3 separate regions of the Homo sapiens genome follow, and all the other regions are linked to region 3. The links are contacts of gene promoters, found by promoter capture Hi-C in blood cells and fetal thymus (Javierre and others, 2016). All regions are on one chromosome and are shown on one strand. The core of a region is centred on a gene start or on the middle of the fragment in contact, and the rest is flanking DNA. Distances in the headings are between cores, read along the strand shown.

Region 1 (3,686 bases), core at 715-3,214, 300 kb before region 3:
CTATTTTAAATAAAGAGGCCAGTCTAATCAGTCTCACTTATGATCACTCGCACTCCTGCGTCTCTAGAGAGAAGAGACAGGACAAAGCTGTCACTTAGAACTGCGAAAGGTACACACAACCCTAGGTTCACAGCTGGGTAACATCAAGGGACTTCATACTGAGAAACCACCACCTCAGGCACCTACAGGACTTTCTGCTTCCCCCACACCTGAATTCTGTATACAAACATTCACGGCTCCATCTACACCACCTCGTTTCACCTGTTCCTATCGGGTATTAGAAACAACAGAGCACAGCCAAAAACCAAACACGATTTCCTCAGGAAAAGAGTACCTGGTGGAGGCCACACTAGTATCCAAAAGTAAACACAGATCTATACACAAAGTGAAAACCAAAAGCAAGCAAGCCTCATGTCACTGCAGAGACGTGAAGGGCAGGCTTGGAAGTCAGGACTCCGGCCTCAGCTCCCGACCCTCCACCACTTACCTGTGAGAGCCTGGGCTAAAGATTTCTTAATCACATTTAGCCTGTTTCCTCACCAGTAAAACAATGAGAAAATGAACGCAAAATTTTGCCAGGATTAAATATAACAAGGCACAGAGTCTGTCCCGTGTCCTCAATAAAATGACAGTAATTATCACGATTTTCCCTTTAGTTGTTGCTTGTCAAAATCGCTAAAAGCCAACTGAAGGCATTCTCACTTGGGAAAGTATGCTACTTCTTAAGGCAATCGGGGGAAAAAAAGCTCCTCTTCAATCTGAGTGATGTCAGATGATTTATTTCCTTCTTGCCATTTAAGGTATACTGCCTGAAAAGATATTAAAGGGTTATAAAGCGCTATGTTGATGTCGTTTAAAAGACAGTTCAAAATAATCCACGACGACGGGTGTGGCTGCTCACACCTGTAACACCAGCACTTTGGGAGGCTGGGGTGGGAGGATCGCTTGAGGCCAGGAGTTCCACACCAGCCTGGGCAATACAGCAACACACCCAGTCTCTTAAAAAAAAAAAAAAAATCCATGAGTCATCTGTAAATGGCTTACACTGGCCCAGTGACAATAAACTCCAACCTCTTAAGAATCCAGCACCTGCCTACACCAACATCCTTACCGCCATCGCTTTCCCCCTTTGCCATTACACTGTGGCCACATCCTCCGCCCTCAGGGTCTTCAAACTTTCTGCCTGAGGCGCGCTTTTCTCACAATTTTGCCTGGCTTGCTTCTCGTCATAGAGGCCTTAGCACGGAAGTCGCCCGCCCCCCAGGCTCCCACTTAGAGTAGCGGACCCCACCCAACCACCGCCCGGTACCCTCTCGCTGGCGACCCTGGGTGTCCCTGTCCTAGGTGGGCTCCGCGGGGGCAGTGACCCAGACCCACAATACCCAGGACCCGCCACACGACTGACATTCGTCGGGTTCATACCCGTGACAACGCCCGGCCCCACTCGCTCTGGCCACCTGGAATGAAGACAAGTCGGCCAGCGACAAAGACAAACAAGGAAGTACACGGACTCCTGAAACCCCGACTTCCCACGAACCACCCGACACCATGTCACGCCTTTCAGCTGCAAAGGGCCAGGCTAAAGCAAGCACTGCCCGAGTGGTGGCAGTGGACAGCTTCGGGACAGGCCGCGCTCGTCGGGCGCAGACAAGCATTCAGGAGGGCTCGCGGGCACCGGCATTTACAGAGCCAGCTCCGCCGCAGCTGAAGGCGGGCGCCCAGGCCCGAGGCCACCGCAGCGAGGCGGGGGTGACTGGAACGGGGCCGTCCCGCCACGCTGCAGGGACGCGCCCAGGCCCCGCCGCCGCCCCTCGAGCCTCCCCCGCCCATGCACTGCGGGAGCGGGAGCGGGAGCGGGAGCCCGAGCCCCGAGGCGCCGCGGCCTCCGAGCCCCTCACCCTGCTGCTCTGGCAGCCCCGGAGGCCGCCCGGCCCGGATGCTCCGGCGGAGACGTGGCCGTGAGAGGGGCGGGGCGAGCGGTGCATCGGCCTCGGGTCCCCGGAAACAGCCTGCACGCGCTACTTTCGTTCCGGAACAGAGAACGTCCTCCTCTTCTTCAAGTGGCCACCCTAGGGCCGGGGACCCTCTGCCCACAGGGTCCGGATCGAGCTCACCTCCGACTGTGATGAGGCCGCCTTCAGAAAGTGACCTTAAGAGTTTGCGGACCTTTCCCTAGTAGAAACGCAACTTCCGGAACTGCAGGACCAACTCTTTCAGGAAGCTGAACCGAGCTTCCGGCGGAAGTGGCGTGGCCGGGGCTCGGCATGGGCGCGGCCGAGCTCGGTGTGGGCGTGACTTCCCCGCCCGCCCTAGTCGGGTCCCCGCCCCAACCCCGCACCTCCACCCGGCCGGCGCCCTTCGCGCTTCAGGTGCCAGATCAAAGGCGACGCTGCTTTGGACCCTATTTGCTTCCCCTTTAAAAAGGGCAAAGCTGGACGGCGCGGGCCGCTGGCCGCTGGGGAACGGCTTTCCACCTTCCCTCATCCGCCAGGCCGCTCTTCCAGCTGTCAGGAAGGAAATGGCCTGGAGGGCGCCTCGGGGTCCTCTGTGATGTTGCGCTCATCTCTGCGGATTTTGGAATACGCTTCAGTCTACGAAGTTTTCTGGGATTTTGATGGGAACTGCTGCAGATCGTTTGGGGAGCACGGGCATCGCTGACTCGGTCCTTCATCTGCGTCCCTGGTGGCCCCTCCATTTATTTCGGTCTTTTGATTTCTTCCACCAGCATTTTGTAATTTCAGCATACAGATTCTGCACCTTTTAAGTTTATAGTATTTCACATCAAACAACTGTAACACTGCGTTTTTGACGTTTTCCACGTGTTCACTGTTGGTCTACACAAATGTGATGAATTCTATGTTGATTTTCTTATCCTGAGACCTCGCTGAACTCATTAGTTTGAGGGTTCATTTGGTGTTTTGCGGTTGTTGTTGTAAAATCCTTGTATTTTTTACATGGGCCATCATGTTATCTGCAAATGCAAATTCTAACACAAAATGATCAGACTGAGGCGTAAAATATACAACTTTTAGAAGAAAACAGAATTTCTCACATCTAGAGCTTGGGGAAGAGTTCTTAGATCTGACCAAAAAAACACAATTCACAAAAGAAGTTGATAGAGTAAACTTCATGAAAAAATTAGAAACTTTTCACCGGATGCGGTGGCTCACGCCTGTAATCCCAACACTTTGGGAGGCCAAGGTGGGCGGATTACCTGAGGTCAGGAGTTTGAGACCAGCCAGGCCAAATGGTGAAACCCATCTCTACTAAAAATATAATAATTAGCCGGGCATGGTGGCATGTGCCTGTAATCCCAGCTACTCAGGAGGCTGGAGGAGAATCGCTTGAATCCAGGAGGCGGAGAGGTTGCAGTGAGCGGAGATCGTGCCACCAGCCTGGGCAACAGAGCAAGACTCCGTCTCAAAAAAAAAAAAAAAAGCCGGGCACAGTGTCTCACGCCTGTAATTCCAGCACCTTGAGAGGCCGAGGCAGGTGGATCACAAGGTCAAGAGATCAAGACTATCCTGGCCAACATGGTGAACCCTGTCTCTATGAAAAATACAAAAAAATTAGCTGGGCGTGGTGGTGTGTGCCTGTAGTCCCAACTACTCGGGAGGCTGAGGCAGGGGGATCACTTGAACCTGGGAGGCAGAGGTTGCAGTGAGCTGAGATCGTGCCACTGCACT
Region 2 (3,927 bases), core at 1,154-3,653, 360 kb before region 3:
GCAGGGAGTAGCTAATTTCTTTTCTTCCCCTTCTTTTTCAATATTAATTGGATTTCCTTAAAGGCCGTGTGTCTATTAAGTTTGTTATCAATGGCTATTTAGCACTTGTAGAAACCCAGCCGTATGTTACATACAGTAGGGTCTAGTCAGGAAAACAGCCCAGGCCAAGTGGTTCAGCAGAGGAAATGCAGGGGCAGGGACGGCAACCGCAGGACGCCAGAGGCCCTCAGGTGGAGATAACGGCCCTGAGTGGAAACGTACAGGCTCCAGAACCTGGTGGGACCTGGGCTGATGCAGGGGAATGAGGGGTTTCAGGGGAGCTACGGCCGTGACCATCAGACGCCCAGCTGCAGGGACAGGCAGGTGGCGGGGGGGGGGGGTCTGTTTTCTGGGTGAAGATGGGGGCATTTTTGAAAGCATTGGGAAGATACACTTGACGTATCTATCCAGTCTCCAGAAATGCACGTTTAACGCTCAGAAGGAAATCTTGCAACAATTGAAGTGCTGTGGGAGGCTCCGCGAGCAGAGACAAGATTGTCCTTCTCTGGGTTTCAGGGCATTTAGACATGACACTCAAAAATATTTCACTGTGGGCCGGGCGCGGTGGCTCATGCCTGTAATCCTAGCACTTTGGGAGGCAGAGGCAGGTGAATCACCTGAGGTCAGGGGTTCAAGACCAGCCTGAACAAAATGGTGAAACCCCATCTCTACTGAAAATACAAAAATTAGCCGGGCGTGGTGGCGGGAGCCTGTAAGCCCAGCTACTCTGGAGGCTGAGGCAGGAGAGTCACTTGAACCTGGCAGGCAGAGGTTGCAGTGAGCTGAGATCGAGACACTGCACTCCAGCCTGGGCAACAAGAGTGAAACTCCGTCTCAAAATATATCTATTTCATGTGAAGGTGAAATCCAACCCCGACGATGTGTAGAAAAGCCCAGCAATCTCCCGCAAATCCCTGAGCCGATGGCCGCGGAGATGGGTGTCCTGGTGGTGCTCCCAGAGCTGCCTCCCCAGGTGCCACCAGGACATGCTGCCTTTGGGGCTAGAGGTTCCCACCTCATCAGTAACGAGGGCATCGCCAGCCCTCAGCTGCCTTGGGCGCCCACAGTCGGCTTTCACGCCTCCCAGAGGTTCCGCCACCTTCAGCCCTCACTTCAGATGGAGTCAGAACTTAGAGATGTGGACACTGTGAAGGTCACCGGCAGCCAGTGGTGGAGCCGGGGGAAGGGTGTAGGACGCCCCCACACACAGGTGAAGAGGGCACTGCCAGGGGGAGGGCTGTAGGACACCCCCACACAGAGGTGAAGAGGGCACTGCCAGGAGGAGGGCTGTAGGACGCCCCCACACACAGGCGAGCAGAGGGCGTTGCAAACATGGGCAGAGGCGGCCCAGCAGCAGTTTAACATTGCCCTGTGTCCAGGAGAAAGGCCACTGCCCAAGTATGCTCTTTATCGCAACCTGCAACATTCCCCCTCAGACGGAAGCTTGTGTAGAGGCCGCCAAGTTCCAACAAATGCTCCCGACTGTAGACGCCACCAAGTGCTGGGACTTGCTCTCGTCATCTGGGAAAGGCTTGGGGACGCTGCCAGCAACTGTCATGTTTATCCATCAAGCTAGACGGCGGAAGTGCAGTCGTCTTAGTTTCCCCCATTATCTGCTTCCTGCTTTTTTTTTTTATCTCGAGTCTCAACTTTGTTGCCCAGGCTGGAGTGCAACGGCACGAACTCCACTCACTGCAGCCTCCACCTCCCGGCTTCAACAATTCTCCTGCCTCAGCTTCCTGAGTAGCTGGGATTACAGGCGCCCATCACCACGCCCGGCTAATTTTTGTATTTTTAGTAGAGATGGGGTTTCACCATGTTAGCCAGGCGGGTTTCAAATTCCTGATCTTGAGTGATTCACCCGCCTCAGCCTCCCAAAGCGCTGGGATTACAGGCATGAGCCACTGTGCCTGGCCTGCTTCCTAATACTACCCGAGGTCTCAGATTTCTGAGTGACCTGGTAATTTTTAAATCCTGAGTCTCCTTCATGCCTGTAATCCCAGCACTTTGGGAGGCCGAGGCGGGCGGATCATGAGGTCAGGAGATCGAGACCATCCGGGCCGACACGGTGAAACCCCGTCTCTACTAAAATACAAAAAGAAATTAGCCGGGCGTGGTGGCGGGAGCCTGTAGTCCCAGCTACTCAGGAGGCTGAGGCAGGAGAATGGCGTGAACCTGGGAGGCGTAGCTTGCAGTGAGCCGAGATCGCGCCGCCGCACACCAGCCTGGGCCACAGAGTGAGACTCCGTCTCCAAAAAAAAAAAAAAAAAAAAATCCTGAGCCTCCCATCAGCGATACGTCCTCTGTCCTACACTCAACCCAAATTCCTGACAGTACCTGCCGCCACTCTAAGCCAGGAAGAAGTGACCCATTCATCTCTGCCAAAACCACTCCTGACACCCACTGCTGAGCTCTGTAGCAGGACGCAGCGTGGAGCTTCGAGCTGCTGAGACAGACACAGCTTAAAATATACCTGTCAGTGCAGTGCCTGCAAACACGTAGCAACTCCATGGAGAAAAGGAAAAAGTTCAGATACATACATGTCCCCTTAAGGGTTCTATAGACCAAAAAAAATTATATCCTTAATATTTCAGAAAGTTAAGGCCACAGAAGGTGGTCAGGGAATTTTTACTCTGTGTAGCAATTCTCTGGGTACAGAAGCTGGTAACGCTCACAGGAAGAAGTGCATTAATCCCACAGGGCCAAGCCCAGCGACCACCACTTCCTGCCCCTTTTCTGTACTTTTTAAACCATGGTGGCCTCTAATAACGTCTAACTGAAAACTCTGTACCTGGTTAACTCTTTTTTTTTTTAGACGGAGTCATGCTCTGTCACCCAGGCTGGAGTGCAGTGGTGTGATCTCGGCTCACTGCAACCTCTGCCCGATCAAGCGATTCTTCTGCCTCAGCCTCCTGACAAGTGGGGATTACAGGCGCCCGCCACCACGCCCTGGCTAATTTTTTGTTTAGTAGAGGTGGAGTTTCACCATGTTGGCCGGGCTGGTCTTGAACCCCTGACCTCAGGTGACCACCCCCTCCCAGCCTCCCAAAGTGCTGGGATTACAGGCGTGAGCCACCACACCCAGCTTACGCCTGGTTAACTCTTAATGACCAAAATCAAAGTATGGATGAAAAAGACGAGAATCTGGGAAGTCACATTGCTGAGGTCTGAGAGTCATGACTCCACTGTCACCGGGGAGGCCCAGCAGAGGGCAGCACCTGGATGATGAGACCCAGTTCAGGAGGCGCAGCACAGAGCGGTCACCATCCTTCCCCGGTTCACCGGGAAGCTTGCTCCCCCTCCTTCTGTATTCCTGGCAAATGACAACGGGCAAAGCGAAGCGTGGGCCAAGGACGGAGGAGGCGGTGCCGCGCGTCTGCCGTGGTCACAAGCCACAGAAGTTTGCTTCACTCCTGCCAGAAACCGGCAGGACAGTAGAATTCTCTTTTAAAGCACGTGTTGAACAGAGTGTGTAATAACATGAGATTAAAAAGTTACTGCCAAACGACAAAATATAACTATTAAAATGAAGCTTCCAATGAATATGAAAATCTTTACCAAAAAATAGTTTATTGCACAAAATTTAAGGAATTCCCAAGCACACTTACATTTGTAAAAAATCAACGTGCTTTTTAAAGTTACACTTTGTCAGACACGGTGACCCCTTTCCCAAGAACAGCCACAACTTGAGGACTCTCTTTTGTGAGGAAATTTTTAATAAAAACAAGTAACTCAAAAGCACTGAATTTTCCAGACCCTCTAACACATTTCCCTCCGGATCCTGTGAGAGCCTGAGATCACTTATGACGAGATTCACCTGGACCTTCCGGTCAGTGAGCTCAGAACACCTCACACCACAGCGTCACTCAACTCAAGTCCCTCCTCACA
Region 3 (3,852 bases), core at 760-3,259:
CAGCTCTTAAAAATGTACACACACATTTCTTGGAGCACAAATAAAGAGTAGTAAATTAATTACCCAGTCAAATCAAGAAGCAGATGGCCAGGCACGGTGGCTCACGCCTGTAATCCTAGCACTTTGGGAGGCCAAGGCGGGCGGATTGCCTGAGCTGAAGAGTTCGAGACCAGCCTGGGCAACACCGTGAAACCCCGTCTCTACTAAAAAATACAAAAAATTAACCGGGCATGGCAGTGTGCGCCTGTGATCCCAGCTATTCCAGAGGCTGAGGCAGGAGAATGGCTTGAACCCGGGATGTGGAAGTTGCAGTGAGCAGAGATCCTGCCATTGCATTCCCGCCTGGGCGAGAGAGAGAGACTCTGTCTCAAAAACAAACAAACAAACAAAAACAAAAATTAGCTGGATTAGCCGGGCGTGGTGGGGCCTGAGGCAGGAGAATCGCTTGAATCCGGGTGGTAGAGGCTACAGTGAGCCGAGATCACGCCACTGCACTCCAGCCTGGAGACAGAGTGAAACTCTGTCTCGAAAAAAAAAAAAAAGTAGAAAAACAGAGACAAAGTAAAAGAAAAATTTAAAAATTAAGAGCAAAACTTACTGTAATAGGACCCCCCTCCCCAAAAAAGACCAAAACAAAACAACAAAAAAACCAAAACCAAATCTACATTTTTGAAAAGACTATGTACACATATACCTTATAGGAGTAATCAAGAAAAAAAGGCCTAGATAATTAGGTTCAAAAAAGAAAAAAATAACAATTACAGCAGTAAAATATTAAAAAGTGGTGATTTTAAAAATCACCATAGAAATTACTTACAGTGATAAAATAGCATGGGCAATTTTATGCCAATAAATTTGAAAAATTAGATTAAAAACAATTATCTAGGAAAGGTATCTAAAACAGAATACGAACTAAAAAACCTAATCAATGAGACTTTTTAAAAAATTGAGTCAGGGCCGGGTGCGGTGGCTCACGCTTGTAATCTCAGCGCTTTGGGAGGCCGAGGCAGGCTGATCACCTGAGGTCGGGAGTTCCAGACCAGCCTGACCAACATGGAGAAACCCCATCTCCACTAAAAATACAGAATTAGCTGGGCGTGGTGGCTCATGTCTGTAATCCCGGCAACTCACAAGACTGAGGCAGAAGAATCACTTGAACCCGGGAGGCGGAGGTTGCTGTGAGCCAAGATGGCGCCATTGCACTCCAGCCTGGGCAACAAAGAGCGAAACTCTGTCTCAAAAAAAAAAAAAAAAAAAATTGAGTCAGAAGTTAAATGCGTACTAAATATTTTAAGACCAAATAGCACCAAACTTTTGGAGGCGGGCGGGGGGCGGTGAGGGGTGGTGACCTGTTTTACAGAATAGAAGAGAGACTGTGCTGTCCAAATTATTCATGAAGCTTGTAAAATCTTGTTAGTATAACGGGCAAGGATAGTACACAAAAAGATTAAAACACAATCTTGTGAGCATAGGTGAAGTCAAAGGGAAACAGCCAATTGAATACACCAGAGTATTAAAGAAATAAAACCATATCGCATTCAACCACAGTATAAGGCAATAGGTGAAAAAAACGATGGCTGTGATTCAACTCATTACTAGGTTTAGAGATTCAAGAGAGGCTGCTGGACAGAGGCGTGCACCCTTTAGCCCTCCCGTGTTGCTTAGAGAAGGAGGCAAACGCGCATCCCCGGCCCCCCAGCGCTCCCTGCGTGGCACCCGCAGCCAGCCCGGGACCCCTCCGCCCCGCGCGCCCCTGGTCCCCACTCGCTCCCCGCGCTCCACTCGCACCCGGTAAGTAGCCCCTCCTCCCTCAAGGGCCTCTCCCACCGCCGCCTCCCGGGCAGGCTCCCTGCTGCTCAGACTCCCGTGAGGCGATCCCTGCACGCAGGAGAACTCAGCGGGCCAGGCTGATCCCACGAGGGACTTGTCCCGGGTGAACGAGCCACAGGCCCGCATGCTCACCCGTCCTCAGTGCCTGCCTCCAGGCGTCCGCGGTCCCGCCCGAGGGGGACGCGAGGCCGAACTACGTTTCCCAGGAGCTCCTGCGCCGCCCCGCAGAGGGGCCTGGTCTGTGCGTCACGGACGCGCTCTGGGCCGAAGGCCCGCAGGGTCCGGCACAGAGTGGCGGCTGCGGCGCCGGCGACGAATCGCCGGCTCTAGGGTCCCGGGGCGCGCGGCTGACGGGCTGGGGGCGGAGCGTGGCCTGAACGCCAGGCTGGGGCGCGTGCGTAACGGTGTGTGTTGTGGGTGCGTGTGCGTGCGTTCGCAGCAGGGGCGGGCGTAGGACCAATGGGGGCGGGGCGCGTGCGCGTGCGTGACGTCAGGCCACGGGGAGGTGGCGCCGCCGTGCCGAGCCGGCCTCAGACTCACCTCTGACGCCGCTCTTCGCGCTCCGCTGGTGAATGGAGTCGCGTTCTCTGTTTTGCTGTTGCTGCTGCCTTTGTGACGGGATCGCTTTCTCCCATCGAACCTTCTAGTTGCTTATTGCAGGTATATACGAAAGTGCTGAATTTTGTGTTTGCATCGTCATCAGGCGCGTGTTGAGCCCTTTAGTAATGTAGCAGTGTATTAGCTTCGTATTTCTAGGTAGACGGTAATTTCGTCAATGAAAAAATTTAACGGTGATCGTCACCCCTTGCCTCAGTCACTTTCTGTCCCTCGCGCGGCCCCGGCGTTCACGGCGGACGTTCTTGTTCTGTGGAGAATAACGGCTGCACCTGGAGATTGACGCAGAGTGGGCGGCGGTGGTGGTAAGTTTGAACCAGATATTTTCAGTAATACAAAATAAGGTTTCTTCTAGTCTAACTTCCATTTTTCCCCCCAGCTGGGATAGATGTTTAAAATTTTGCATATGGCCTTTCTAGTATTTGTTGAAATAGTGACGCCGATTCGTGTGTGGTCTTTTAAAAACAAATCCTGCATCTCTAGCTCTTAGCTTCCTCATCTTTGTTTTGTTTTTTAATCAGATAGATTAACTGAAGGCGTGTTTGTGTGGTTAATCTATTTTTTTTATTTTCAGAGACAGATCATAAGTTTAATTACTATATTTTTATTTTCCCTTGACACTAGATATATATACGCCATCTAACACATAATATGAGTGTCAAAGATAAGGTTAACATCAAGATTTCGTACGTAGATCCCACCCAAAGTGTATGCAGAAGGTGAACAATTTCAATTCCAGCTATACATTAATTGCAGAAAGATACTGTTAATTAAAAAAAAAAAAGTAAAAGGGAAGGCAGGATGTCACCCAGAATGCCAGCCAACAAGTGTTATTAGGTTAGAAATGACTGCAGTTAGGTCTCCGAGAACTGGATAGCACAAATCCTCCCTACCCTTTTGAAAATTACCTCCACACTAACTTTTCTCTTGTGACATAACTAATCTCTTCTGTTTTACTAAAATTGTCCCCCATCTTCCAAAGCCTCTTGGATGGTAAGTTGCACACGCTCCTGCCTCTTTTTGAAAGTTACATTTGTTTTTTGATTACTTCTCTCAGCATGCATTTCTTTAGCTCTTAGTATATGCTAGTCACAAGGGCAGAGATTTGAGATACACATCATAAATTAAATGAGAATTTCTGCTTATCAGTATTTTATATAAGCACTGTCTGGAAATTCTACTTAGGACAATATTTAAGTAGATATGAGGCTTACCTTCTGGAAAAGAGATTACAAAATTATCCTTGTTAATTAATTAACTAATTAAGTCCCCAAAATGAGAAGAGATTCAATTACTATCAATAATTTGTAGTAAAGTGACTGAAAAGGAAATATATAAGCTAATAGATTGATTGCCGTCCTCAACAAGTTAGCACATACTTTTATTTTTAAAAAGTCTTCACAATAG

The links. The method cuts DNA at HindIII sites, captures the fragments that hold promoters and counts their contacts. A CHiCAGO score of 5 or more calls a contact.
Region 1: the fragment with the promoter of GOLGA3 here is called in contact with the fragment with the promoter of ZNF891 in region 3 in 1 of 17 cell types (neutrophils); the score reaches 5.6 in neutrophils.
Region 2: a fragment that was not itself captured here is called in contact with the fragment with the promoter of ZNF891 in region 3 in 2 of 17 cell types (erythroblasts and fetal thymus); the score reaches 5.8 in erythroblasts.

The regions. Positions count from the first base shown.
Region 1 is chr12:132,826,905-132,830,590 of GRCh38, forward strand. It overlaps GOLGA3 (golgin A3), which reads right to left and starts at 1,965. Exons shown (of 24, transcript NM_001389683.1): 1 at 1,899-1,965. RefSeq lists silencers at 1,243-1,342, 1,843-1,902, 2,273-2,482 and an enhancer at 2,053-2,192. The HindIII fragment of the contact is 8,970 bases long and covers 1-3,686 here.
Region 2 is chr12:132,765,324-132,769,250 of GRCh38, forward strand. It overlaps GOLGA3 (golgin A3), which reads right to left. Exons shown (of 24, transcript NM_001389683.1): 24 at 3,591-3,927. Among named protein-coding and RNA genes, the nearest start is that of ANKLE2, 5.5 kb to the left of the region's middle. RefSeq lists enhancers at 2,540-2,589, 2,700-2,749. The HindIII fragment of the contact is 1,846 bases long and covers 1,481-3,326 here.
Region 3 is chr12:133,128,265-133,132,116 of GRCh38, forward strand. It overlaps ZNF891 (zinc finger protein 891), which reads right to left and starts at 2,010. Exons shown (of 2, transcript NM_001277291.2): 1 at 1,963-2,010. It overlaps ZNF10 (zinc finger protein 10), which reads left to right and starts at 2,363. Exons shown (of 5, transcript NM_015394.5): 1 at 2,363-2,490. RefSeq lists silencers at 1,626-1,805, 2,176-2,415 and enhancers at 2,466-2,745, 3,828-3,852. The HindIII fragment of the contact is 7,004 bases long and covers 1,398-3,852 here.